Regions from separate parts of the Homo sapiens genome. Here all the other regions are linked to region 1. Evidence: promoter capture Hi-C in 16 types of primary human blood cells and fetal thymus (Javierre and others, 2016). All regions are on one chromosome and are shown on one strand. Each heading gives the region's core, a stretch centred on a gene start or on the middle of the fragment in contact. The rest is flanking DNA. Distances are from core to core; before and after follow the strand shown.

Evidence for each region. Contacts are between HindIII fragments. The CHiCAGO score rates a contact against its expected background, and 5 or more counts as called.
Region 2: a contact is called between a fragment that was not itself captured here and the fragment with the promoter of USP7 in region 1, in 9 of 17 cell types (total CD4 T cells, neutrophils, non-activated CD4 T cells and 6 more). The highest score is 12.8, in total CD4 T cells.
Region 3: a fragment that was not itself captured here is called in contact with the fragment with the promoter of USP7 in region 1 in 3 of 17 cell types (neutrophils, non-activated CD4 T cells and monocytes); the score reaches 8.7 in neutrophils.
Region 4: a fragment that was not itself captured here is called in contact with the fragment with the promoter of USP7 in region 1 in 1 of 17 cell types (non-activated CD4 T cells); the score reaches 5.3 in non-activated CD4 T cells.

What each region holds. Positions count from the first base shown.
Region 1 is chr16:8,962,424-8,965,262 of GRCh38, reverse strand. USP7 (ubiquitin specific peptidase 7) reads left to right here and starts at 1,357. Exons shown (of 31, transcript NM_003470.3): 1 at 1,357-2,056. The coding sequence starts at 1,978. It overlaps USP7-AS1 (USP7 antisense RNA 1), which reads right to left and starts at 2,550. Exons shown (of 2, transcript NR_184341.1): 1 at 2,369-2,550. RefSeq lists a silencer at 895-1,254 and an enhancer at 2,450-2,839. The HindIII fragment of the contact is 5,189 bases long and covers 1-2,839 here.
Region 2 is chr16:8,566,789-8,569,627 of GRCh38, reverse strand. TMEM114 (transmembrane protein 114) reads left to right here. Exons shown (of 4, transcript NM_001146336.2): 4 at 1-128. Among named protein-coding and RNA genes, the nearest start is that of TMEM114, 22 kb to the left of the region's middle. The HindIII fragment of the contact is 2,900 bases long and covers 8-2,839 here.
Region 3 is chr16:8,649,932-8,652,770 of GRCh38, reverse strand. It overlaps a transcript of METTL22 not described here. Among named protein-coding and RNA genes, the nearest start is that of ABAT, 23 kb to the left of the region's middle. The HindIII fragment of the contact is 2,939 bases long and covers 1-2,839 here.
Region 4 is chr16:8,688,909-8,691,747 of GRCh38, reverse strand. The region is part of intron 1 of ABAT (4-aminobutyrate aminotransferase); the gene reads right to left. Among named protein-coding and RNA genes, the nearest start is that of ABAT, 16 kb to the right of the region's middle. The HindIII fragment of the contact is 296 bases long and covers 1,356-1,651 here.

The DNA of each region.
Region 1 (2,839 bases), core at 108-2,607:
GCCCAACCAATTTTTATTGAGCACTTGCTGTGTATCCCAGGCATTTGTGATACAACAGTGAGCAAAACATTCTTTCGGGGGGAAGGGAGATGAACAGTACATAAATGGGAGAAAAATGCAGGGAAAGCGGGTATAGGGAGATGGAGAGAAGACAGGTACCACAATCTTCTGGCCTTGTTAGGGTGAAATTCTATTCTCCCCTGAGATGTGTAGAAATGTATATCGGTTTGCTCCATTTTTATTGACCCACACTGCCTTGATTAACTGGAAAAGTTGAGACCCTAATCATCAGTCTGTCAATGACTGAATGAGACAGGACAGGAGATATATTCACCAAATGTCTCCTGGAATAGGGAGGCCCCGGGTGAATGATCCCAGACTGGGTTGATAGGAAGGAAGTAAATTAATACCAAATGTGAAGGGTAGTGGGCTTGTTTTATTTTTATATTATTATTTTATTATCACTATTAGTTGAGACAGGGTCTCATTCTGTTGCCCAGGCTGGAGTGCAGTGGCGCCATCTTTGATCACTGCAGCCTCAGTCAACCTCCCAAGCGAACCTCCAGCCTCAGCCTCCCAAGTAGCTGTCACTACAGGCAGGAGGCACAACACCCGGCTAATTAAAAATACATTTCAAAAATATAAAAACAAAACCCAAAACCTTTGTAGAGAGGGTGGTCTCTTACTCTTGGCCTCAAGTGATTCTCCCACCTCGGCCTCCCAAAGTGCTGGGATCACAGGTGTGAGCAGCTGCGCCCCGCCTGGGGTTGCTCTTGAGGAGCCAAACTTTGCCAGATTAGGCTGACAGTGAGAAAATAAATTCTTCCACGGTAGATACTGGGTGAAAAAGTGCACGTCAGCGGGCAAGGGTAAGTAACGACAATAACAGGAACTTCTAGGCGCTGACCCCAAGCTCCCTTCCGGGCCCTATCCCGAGCAGTCCCCGGGCAACCTCCAGCGCTCGCCCCGGCGCGCTAGGCTGGGACCTGAACCCCGGCTGCCGGGTGGCTTCTGGGCCCCTCCTCATTGCCGCTCCTGGGTCTTTCGGGGTGTCCGGCTCCCCAGGATGGGAAGGATTCCGGTTCACCTCCGCAGGGCTAAGTCACCGGGCGGCCCGCCTCGGCCCCCAGGGCCCGGGGGCAGGGAGCGCCGAGGGTCCGCCGCGGGGCTGCGGCGCAGGCGGTGCCGGGGCGCGGCGCTGCGGGGCAGGCGGGCCTCGGCGGCGGCGGCAGGCGGGTCGCTCCCTGCTCCGCCTCCCGTGCTCCGCCCTGCGCTCCCGCTCCGCCCTCCGGCTCGGCGCCCGCCCGCTTGCTCTCCTCGCTCGCTCGCTCGCTCCGCGGCCCCCCATGCGGATGTGACATTTCACGCCGCCGCCATTTTGAGAGCGAGCCGAGCCGAGCTGCCGGGCGCCGCGTCCGCTGCCGGAGCCCCGACGACGACGCCGAGGAGGCGGAGGCCGCGGCTCTCGGAACGCGGCCGGCCCGTCGCCCGCCCGCTCCGCCGCTCCCGCCGGCCCCAGGGCCCGCAGGCCCGCCGCGGCCGGCCAGGCCTCCCGTCCGCCGCGCCCGGCCCGAGGCGGGGCTGACTCCGCGGCCCCCGACCGGCCGCCCTCCGCCCCCGGCCGGCCCGCGGCCCCGCAGCCCCGGCCCCGGCCCCGGCGGCGGGAGGCGGGCCCCGCGGCGGCGGCGGCGGCGGCCGCAGCGAGCGACGAGGCCGCCCGGCCCGGCCCGCCGGCCGCCCGCCCGCCTCGGCGCCGAGATTGGGCGAATCGCGAGCAAGTACGTGCGCGTCTCCCTGCCGCCGCCGCCGCCCGCCGCGGGCCGCCCCGGGGCCGCCGTCGCCGACGACGCGCGGGAGGAGGAGGAGGAGGCCGCCCCGCCGCCGCCGCCGCCGCCGCCGCCCCGGCTCGCCGCCGCCCGCCCGCCGGGCTCGCAGCCCCGGCCCCCGGCCGCAGGCGAGGCCCAGGCCGCGGCCGACATGAACCACCAGCAGCAGCAGCAGCAGCAGAAAGCGGGCGAGCAGCAGTTGAGCGAGCCCGAGGACATGGAGATGGAAGGTGAGGCCCGAGGGCCGGCCGCGGCGGGGCCGGGGGGCGCCTTTCATTGTGGCCGGGGGAGCCGCGGGAGCCACGCGAGGGGCTCGCCATCTTTAACCAGGCCCCGGGCGGCCGCCGGGCCTCGGCCTGGCCTCCCGGCCCCGGCCTGCGAGGCTGCAAAGTCATGCCGGGTCCGCGGGCGAGGGGCGGCCGCCGGGACCCCGGCCCCGTGCATTGTCCCGACCTCGCGTCCGCCGGGCCTCCGCGGCACAAAGCGCCCTGAGTTGTAAATTCGAGCGCTCAGGCAGCGGAGGGACGGAGGTGTTTTCTCACCCAGGTTGGGAGGCGGACTCCGGGGACCGTCCCCGTTCTGGGGCGTCCGGTTGGATCTGGTGTGGCTGGGGAATTCCTGACCTCCCCGGGCGCGGGGCTCGCCCGCACCTGCTCCGGTGCGCTCCCCCGGAGGGCGCGCCGTGGCTCGGAAGCGCTCTTCCAAATCACTTTCTAACAGCACTGCCTAGCGTCGGGCTTACGTTCGAAAATACCTGCAAGGAACGCAGATGTTGTCAGGTTTTGGACTGGCCCAGAGTTCTGACCCGGGCGCTGTTGGTTTCCGAATCCACCTGTTTTTCGGGGAGTTTGTACTTGGCAGTGTGTGGTGCAGCCAGCATCCGGCCAGGTGTGCGCTTGCAACCGTGCGAAAGCCCTGCCGCACATGGCTGCCTGCATCAGAATCAAACCTGACTCGAAAGGTAACTCGGTTTTCTGCCGATGTGGCAGTAATTTTCCAAGGCACTGTAGTTT
Region 2 (2,839 bases), core at 208-2,707, 400 kb after region 1:
CTAAGCTTGGGGCCTGGCTGTTATCCTAGTACCTGTGTGCTTATGTCCGTGTGTGTCCGTGTGGCCTGGAGGAGCCCGAGGGAGTGCCAAACCGCTTCGCGAGAAATAAAAACGATCCTTTAATCACACACAGAGCTTTACAGATTGCAAAGTCCTCACGCCCCCTCCGACTTCATTTCCTCCTCACCCATGTCCCTTGGATCAGCTCCTTGGTGGGTCTGGGAAAGGGAGAGGGTGCCCTACCTCCTGGGCCCTGTAATGCGTTCAGCTCTCTCTGGGGAGCTCTGGCCTGGAGTTCCTTTTGCTCTAAAATAACTCTGGCATGACATGGGCTTTCTACGGGGTCAGGTTAGGTCTACAATATGAAGCTGCGAGACTCCCAAGGGGTTGGCCAATTGATAGAGCACTCTTCAAGACTAATCATACCTTTTCCGTCCTCCCCCAGAAAAATCCATCCCTCCTTTCATCCTGGTGTTCTGCCCCTGGGAATGGGCTCCCCATCCGGGTCCCCTGGGGCAGTGCTGTTCACATTTAGCGCGCCCCAGACTCTATGGGCTTGTTGATACTCTCGGGCTGATGCCACCCCCAGGGTGTCTGAGCCAGGAGGCCTGGGTGAAGCCCAAAAACTCACATTTCTAAGTGGCTTCCAGGCGATGCCGAGGCTTCTGGCCCAGAGCCACTGTTTGCATAAATGCCGAGGTGGGGCGTTTATTAAGTGACAGAGAAGGGTTGTCATCTTGCTGCTCTTAGAATCACCTGGGTATCTTCCAAAAATCCTGCTGCTGTCTACATCCTTGATCTGATATTCTCTAGGGCTGGTGTCCAGGCATCAGTGTTTTTTAAGAGCTCTCCAGCCTATTCTAACCCAAAACCATGGCTGAGATTCTGTTCCTGCAAGATTCCAAGTCATGAGATGTAGGGGAGGGCCCGAGGAGCCTTTGGCTTAGGAAACTCTGGGAGGTGCTGATGGTTTGGGGAATACTGGTGTGGATTAAAAGATGACAACACGATTATCAACAATATGGCATCATCGTCTTCATCATGACATCATCATCACCATGACGTCAACACTGTCATCATCATAGCTGACACCCACTGAGTACTTTCTATGCACCTGTGCTATTCTCCATGCCAGTCGGTCAGTCAGTCATTCAACAAACATCATGACATCATCACCACCATGCCATGACATCACCACCACAACGACATGACACCACCATGACATCAGCATTGTCATCATTATAGCTGACATCCACATCTATGCACCTGTGCTATTCTCCACGCCAGTCGGTCAGTCAGTCATTCAACAAACACTCAAAGGAAGGCCAGTACACACCAGCAACTGGGGGGGCAATGACTCCTCCAGACCCAGACCTTGCTCTCTGGGGTGCCACATGATTGAGGAGAGAGAGGCATATGAAATACGTAGCCCGTGGTGAGGACTAGGAGATAAGCAAAGCAGGGTACAGATGAGGAAACTGAGGCACTGGCAGGTTAACATAACTGGACTAAGGGCATAAGGAGAGAAAGGGACGCAACTGGGAGTAAACTTCAGAACTGCCTGATCCCAAGATGGTCCTCCCCCTACTTCCACCAACGCCTGCACTTCTTTACTGGCTGTCTGCTCCTTTCAGGACGTTGCTGCGACGTCCCTGTCTAATCCGGAAAGGCGCAAAAGGAGTGGGTTACTCACATGGCCACATGGGGCTAAATGAGCGCTGTTGGAAAATCAGTTACAATGCTGGGGAAAACAAAGTTTTTGCAAAGTGAGGGCAACCATGCTACCGAAAGGGCGGTCTCTGCTTCCACCTGCTGGTCGTATTGTGGAACTGCTCCAGAGGCAGGATTTGATCCCCAAATTCGTCAAGAGACACGTTTTCAGCCCTCCTAGCGCCCAAGTGCTGGATTAAATACTGCAGGGCCAGAGTTCTCAGCTGGGGCGATTCTCTCCCCCACCTGACATTTGGCAGTGTTTGGAGACAGTTTTGGTTGTTCTTAGTGCGTGTGGGGAGTGGTATTACCGGCAGCTCCAGTGGGAAGAGGCCAGGGATGCTCCTCGCATCCTATGATGCTCAGGACATCTGGTCCCACACGTCCACCTTGGGACATGCTGAGACACTCTGCTAAGCGAGCAATAATGGACAATAACAAACCAAAACATGTGTGCACCTCAGGAACTGACAACACAGAATAAGCTCATTCATTCGCCCATCCATTCATGCATTTGATAAATGCTTGCCAGATACCTACAGTGTCAGAGACTGTTCCAGGGCCTGGGGACACATTCATGGGGGTGGCCAAGAAAATCTCCACCCTTCCTAGCTCACATGGGAACAGATGATAAACCCATGAACCAATAATCTATCTGAGAGATTCAGACAGTGATTAGTGTTATGAAGAAAACAAAACAGGGTGATGAGGCCGGGCGCCATGGCTCATGCCTGTAATCCCAGCACTTTGGGATGCCAAGACAGGCAGGTCACCTGAGGTCAGGAGTTCGAAACTAGCCTGGCCAACATGGTGAAACCCCATCTCTACTAAAAATACAAAAAAAAAAAAAATAGCCAGCTGTGGTAACACGCGCCTGTAATCCCAGCTACTTGGGAGGCTAAGGCAGGAGAATCACTTGAACCCAGGAGGTGGAGGTTACAGTGAGCCGAGATCGCACCATTGCGCTCCAGCCTGGGTGACAGAGTGAGACTCCATCTCAAAAAAAAAAAAAAAAAAAAACCAGGGTGATGGGATGAAAGGTGTCTGGTAGAGATGTGACTCCAGGAAGGACAATTAGAAAGGGCTTCTTGGAGGAGGTGACATTGTGCTGAGACCCGCATGAAGAACC
Region 3 (2,839 bases), core at 201-2,700, 310 kb after region 1:
CATCACAGTCACTCACATAGGGCCAAGGTATGGCCACCTACTCCCAGCTCCCTTAGTTTAGATGAGTCTAAAATTAAAAAAATTTTTTTTTTAAAATAATTATTTGTTTTAAATAACATGAGAATGGGTCTCACTATGTTGCCCAGGCTGGTCTCAAACTCCTGGCTCAAGTGATCCTCCTACCTCGGCCTCCCAAAGTGCTGGGATTACAGGTGTGAGCCACTGCACCTGGCCACACATGAGGGTTTCACAGCAAGCAAGGGCAAGGGCACACACTACATCTCACTTTTTTTTTTTTTTTTTTTTTTTTTTGAGACGGAGTCTCCCTCTGTTGCCCAGGCTGGAGTGCAGCGGCATGATCTCGGCTCATTGCAACCTCGACCTGCTCGGTTTAAGCGATTCTTGTGCCTCAGCCTCCTGAGTAGCTGGGATTACAGCTGTGCACCACCACGCCCGGCTAATTTTTGTATTTTTGGTAGAGATGGGGTTTCACCATGTTGGCCAGGCTGGTCTTGAACTCCTGACCGCAAATGATCCTCCCACATTGGCCTCCCAAAGTGCTGGGATAACAGGCTTGAGCCACCGCGCCCGGCCTACATCTCACTTTTATCTGGACTCTATACTGAAGAGCATGAACTCTGAGGCTGTGTCCCTGGCAGCATTTCTCCCCCAACTGGCAGCCCGTGGAAGTGGAGTGGAGCTGGGATCAGCAGGATAAAGCATGACTTTTCTTTTTTGCTTGTTTTATTTTAAGTTCTGGGATACATGTGCAGAATGTGCAGGTTTGTTACATAGGTATATGTGTGCCATGGTGGTTTGCTGCACCTATCAACCCGTCATCTAGGTTTTAAGCCCTGCATGCATTAGGTATTTGTCCTAACGCTCTCCCTCCTCGTCCCCCATCCCCCAAAAGGCCCCGGTGTGTGATGTTCTCCTCCCTATGTCCTTGTGTTCTCATTGTTCAACTCCCACTTATGAGTAAGAACAAAAGCATGACTTTTCTCTCTCTCTGAGGGTTGCCCAGGTCCTCCAAAATCATGCTCGTGTACAACACGGAACCTGAAATTGAAGTCAGGCTTTTTCCATTTGACTTTTCAGATTTGCTTTTTGTCCAGCTATTGCTTCAGGATAGGGTGGCAAACAGGATCCCTTTTATTTATAGAGAGAGGGAGAGATTGCTCCCAGTGATGTCTCTAGCAGGTGATGATGTGAGACAATCCAACCTTACAAATCACACAGGCTGCAAGGTGCAAGTTGAAAATTCCGCCAAGCCAAAAACTCTACCTTAGGACTAAGTCTGCAATTTAATGAAAACTTCACCAGGGCCAAGTATGACTCTAGGCATCTTTCATGGATCATTTAGTATGTTTTTTTTTTTTTTTTTGAGACAGAGTCTTGCTCTGTTGCCCAGGCTGGAGTGCAGTGGCTCGATCTCAGCTCACTGCAAGCTCCGCCTCCCGGGTTCACGCCATTCTACTGCCTTAGCCTCCCGAATAGCTGGGACTACAGGTGCCCGCCACCACGCCTGGCTAATTTTTTGTATTTTTAGTAGAGACGGGGTTTCACCATGTTAGCCAGGATGGTCTTGATTTCCTGACCTCATGATCTGCCCACCTCGGCCTCCCAAAGTGCTGGGATTACAGGTATGAGCCACTGCGCCTGGCCCATTTAGTATGATCTTTACAATAATTCTGTGAAGAAAGAATTCTTACCCTCTTTTTTTCCCATTTATTTATTTATATTATTTTTTGAGACGGAGTCTCGCTCTGTCACCCAGGCTGGAGTGCAATGGTGCAATCTTAGCTCACTGCAAACTCCACCTCTCAGGTTCCAATTCTCCTGCCTCAGCCTCCAGAGTAGCTGGAATTACAGGCACGCCACCATGCCCAGCTATTTTTTTGTATTTTTAGTAGATACGGGGTTTTGTCATGTTGGCCAGACTGGTCTTGAACTCCTGACCTCAGGTGATCCATTTGCCTTGGCCTCCCAAAGTGCCGGGATTACACGCATGAGCCACATCTGGCTTTTTTTCATTTATTGATAAATGAAATTTTGCATATTATGGGGTGCATATGAATGTGTTTTATATACACAGAATGTGTAATTATCAAGCCAGGGTATTTGAGGTATTCACCACCTTGAGAATTTATAATTTTATGTGTTGGGAACATTTCAAGTTCTCTCTTCTAGCAACTTTGAAATACACAATATATTGTTGCTAACTGTAGCCACCCTAGTCTGCTACCAAACATTAGAAGGTATTTCTTCCCTAAGTTTGTACCCATTCACCAACCTATCAAGAAGTTTTACTATTTTACAGGTGAGGAAACTCAGGTTCAGAGAGGCTAGGTCATTTGTCCAAGGTCATTGCTGTTACACAGCAGAGGCAGGATTTAAACCCTGGCTTGCTCAACTCCGGAGTTGGTGGGTTTTTTTTTCTTTAGAAATAGCGTCTCTGTCTGTAAGGCTGTGAGGGTGTAGTGCAGTGGCACAATCACAGTTCACTGCAGCCTAGAATTCCTTCGCTTAGGCGATGCTCCCGACCCAGCCTCCTGAGTAGCTGGGAGTACAGGTGCATGACACACCTGGCTAATTAAAAAAAAGTTTTTTAGAGATAGGGTCTCTGTATGTTGCCCAGGCTGATCTCAAACTCCTGTCCTCAAGTAATCCTCCTGCCTTTGCCTCCCAAAGTGCTGGGATCACAGGTATGAGCCACCACATCCAACCCAGAGTTTGTGCTCTTAACCAGGGATGACATGTTGCAACTTCACTCCTCACAGTGTGGCCCACAGACGAGCATCATCAGCATCACCCGGGAGCTTGTTAAACTGCAGCATCA
Region 4 (2,839 bases), core at 254-2,753, 270 kb after region 1:
CCCTTGGCACTGGGCGCGGTGGCTCACACCTGTAATCCCAGCACTTTGTGAGGCTGAGGGCAGAGGATCGCCTGAGATCAGGAGTTTGAGACCCGCCTGGCCAACATGGCGAAACCCCCTCTCTATTAAAAATACAAAAATGTTGCCGAGTGTGGTGGTGCACGACTGTAATTCCAGCTACTCAGGAAGCTGAGGCAGGAGAATTGCTTGAACCCAGGAGGCAGAGATTGCATTGAGCCAAAATTGTGCCACTGCACTCCAACCTAGGCAACAGAGTGAGAGTCTGTCTTGGAAAAAAAAAAAAGTTCCCTGGGGAGCACAGTTGCAGCAGAGAACCCTGCTCTCCAGGAAATGTGGCAGGTTATCTGCTCCAATGTGATGTATTAACTGCAGGCAGGTGCAAGTGTTCAGGTGAAGGGGTTCAAATCCCAACTCCCTCACTTGGTTTCTGAGGACCTGGTGCAAGTTCTGTAATAGCCCCTCATCTGTAAAATGGGTTTGAAACCACATCAAAGGGTTATTGTGGGGTTCCCAGAGAGGGTACTCATAGTACACAGTATATTACCAAGCACTAAGTAGATAATAAACAGAGGAGGTGTGGCTGTAGCATCAAGCTATGTGCCAATATGGGCAAGTGTGGTTTGACGAAGGGAGAGCTTAACTGAAATCTGTATTCTATTTTTCAGGGTTTTTTTTTTTCCCCCAACACACTGCCAATACTTATTCTAAAAATTCTAAAACAACATTATTTCCCCCAGGCTCTAAAACCTCCCTGAAGCAGTGTTAACTCCTGGCTTCTTCATACATTCATTTGCAAACAAATTCCCACCTTGAAAACCCACAAAGAACACAGCGGCCACCTACATTCATGAAAACAACATCAATCCTGTCCGCTATGTTTGGCTCTCCTGTCCTGGAACAAGGGGCAGACCCATTTAATGAGATTTTGGGTGCTGGTGTATATTCAACTTCCTCCCCACAATTCTATAGAAACCCAGCAGATATTTACCTTGATGAAAACCTTCTTAATTACTCCACTTGGTGCAGAAAGAACCAAAACCCCATGTTGGCTGCCAAATTTAAAAGGCACTGCCGAGAATGAGATGAGGGTCTTAGATCTGGATAAATCATCGGATCCGCTCAAGGCACAGATTGGAAACATCTCAGAATCCTGTCCTACTCCCCAGAAATGTTGTCATTCTGTACGTAAAATTCCTGATGAGTATGACTCACTCTATATTTTGAAAAGGAAAAAAGTACCACAAAAAATGTAGAAAAATATATTGTTGGAGACTTTTATATTTGCCCTTTGGAAGGTGTGTGGTCTTAGGCAAGTGACTTAAGCTCTCTAAGCTTCTGTGTTCTTATCCATAGAGTAGGAATCATGCCTCCACGGGTGAGGAGTAGAGATGATGGTGAATGAGGAGAAACAGTTCAAGTTCACAGCACTGCGGCTGGCACCAGGTCCACCTTAAGGGACACTCCAGCAAGCAAGACACTCGCCAGGCTGGGGAGAAAAGAGTTCCAGACCTGAGATGGTGCCAGGCAGATGCTGCTGCTGCCAGAACCTGGGCTGACTGCACAGTAAAACTGTTGCTTCCACTGCTAGCAAAAATGAAATGTTCAGTGCCAGGAGCTGGGAGATGAAGCTTAATAAAACTGATGTGTCACTCCAGGGGTTGCCATACACATTCTTCTCCTGCCAAGAAGCAACCCTAGTTGTGCTGAAAAGGCTCTTGGAACTACCCTAAATCTGGAATATTCAAGGTGACTCTTGTTATTGTTCTTAGGATAGTTGTTCTAGGTATAAAAACCAGCTGTTGAATGTAGTTTAAAGGCCTTGAGGTCTGGTCCCTATCACCATTCCAATTTCTGTGCATAGCACCTTCCTGACTCTGGGTTTGGCCACGAGGATCTACTGTTTGTCCTGGGAAGGCTTCTACTCAGTCTTTGCAGATGCTGTTCCCACCACCCAAAATGCTTTTCCCTTGCTTCTGATTCCTTCATTTCTACTCACACTTCTGATATCAGTTCATGACTCACTTTCTCAGAGAAGACTTCCCTGAACCTCTCCCACCAGATCAAATCTTCCTTTTAGCACAGAATCCTACACAGCTCCCCTTTGTGGCCCCATCACATTCATATGTTACCTCTATTTGTGGAATTATTTGGTTCATGTCTTGTCACTTATAAGACTATACACTTTAAGGTAGAAGTTGTGCATATGATTAGACTTGAATTCCCATCATGATACCATCTGGCACTGTACTGGAAGCCCAATACATTTTTGTCAAATTGTTAGTAAGTCTTGATTGGTGCAGTCTCTTTAGAGGGCAACGAGGCAATGCCTATCATATTCTAAGGCTACAGCAGTCAAGATGTGGTATGGGGGCAAAGATTAAACACACGGATTAATAGAACCGAACAGAGAATAGAAACACATACATGCATATATGGACACTTGATTTTTGACAATGGAGGCAGTGATACTGGGCCAAATGAACTATCTATGTAGGAAAAAATTAATCATGATTCTACCTAATACAATACATAAAAATCAACCCTAGGTGGATGCTGGAGATAAATATGAAAGGCAAAACATGAAAGCTTCCAGAAGATAATAGAAGAAACAACACAAATGACGTTGAACTTTTTTTTTTTTTTTTTTGAGACAGGGTCTCACTCTATCACCCAGGCTGGAGTGCAGTGGTGCAATCTCGGCTCACTGCAACCTCTGCCTTCTGGGTTCAAGTGATTCTCCTGCCTCAGCCTCCCAAGTAGCTGGGACTAAAGGCACCTGCCACCACGCCCGGCTAATTTTTTTGTGTATTTTTAGTAC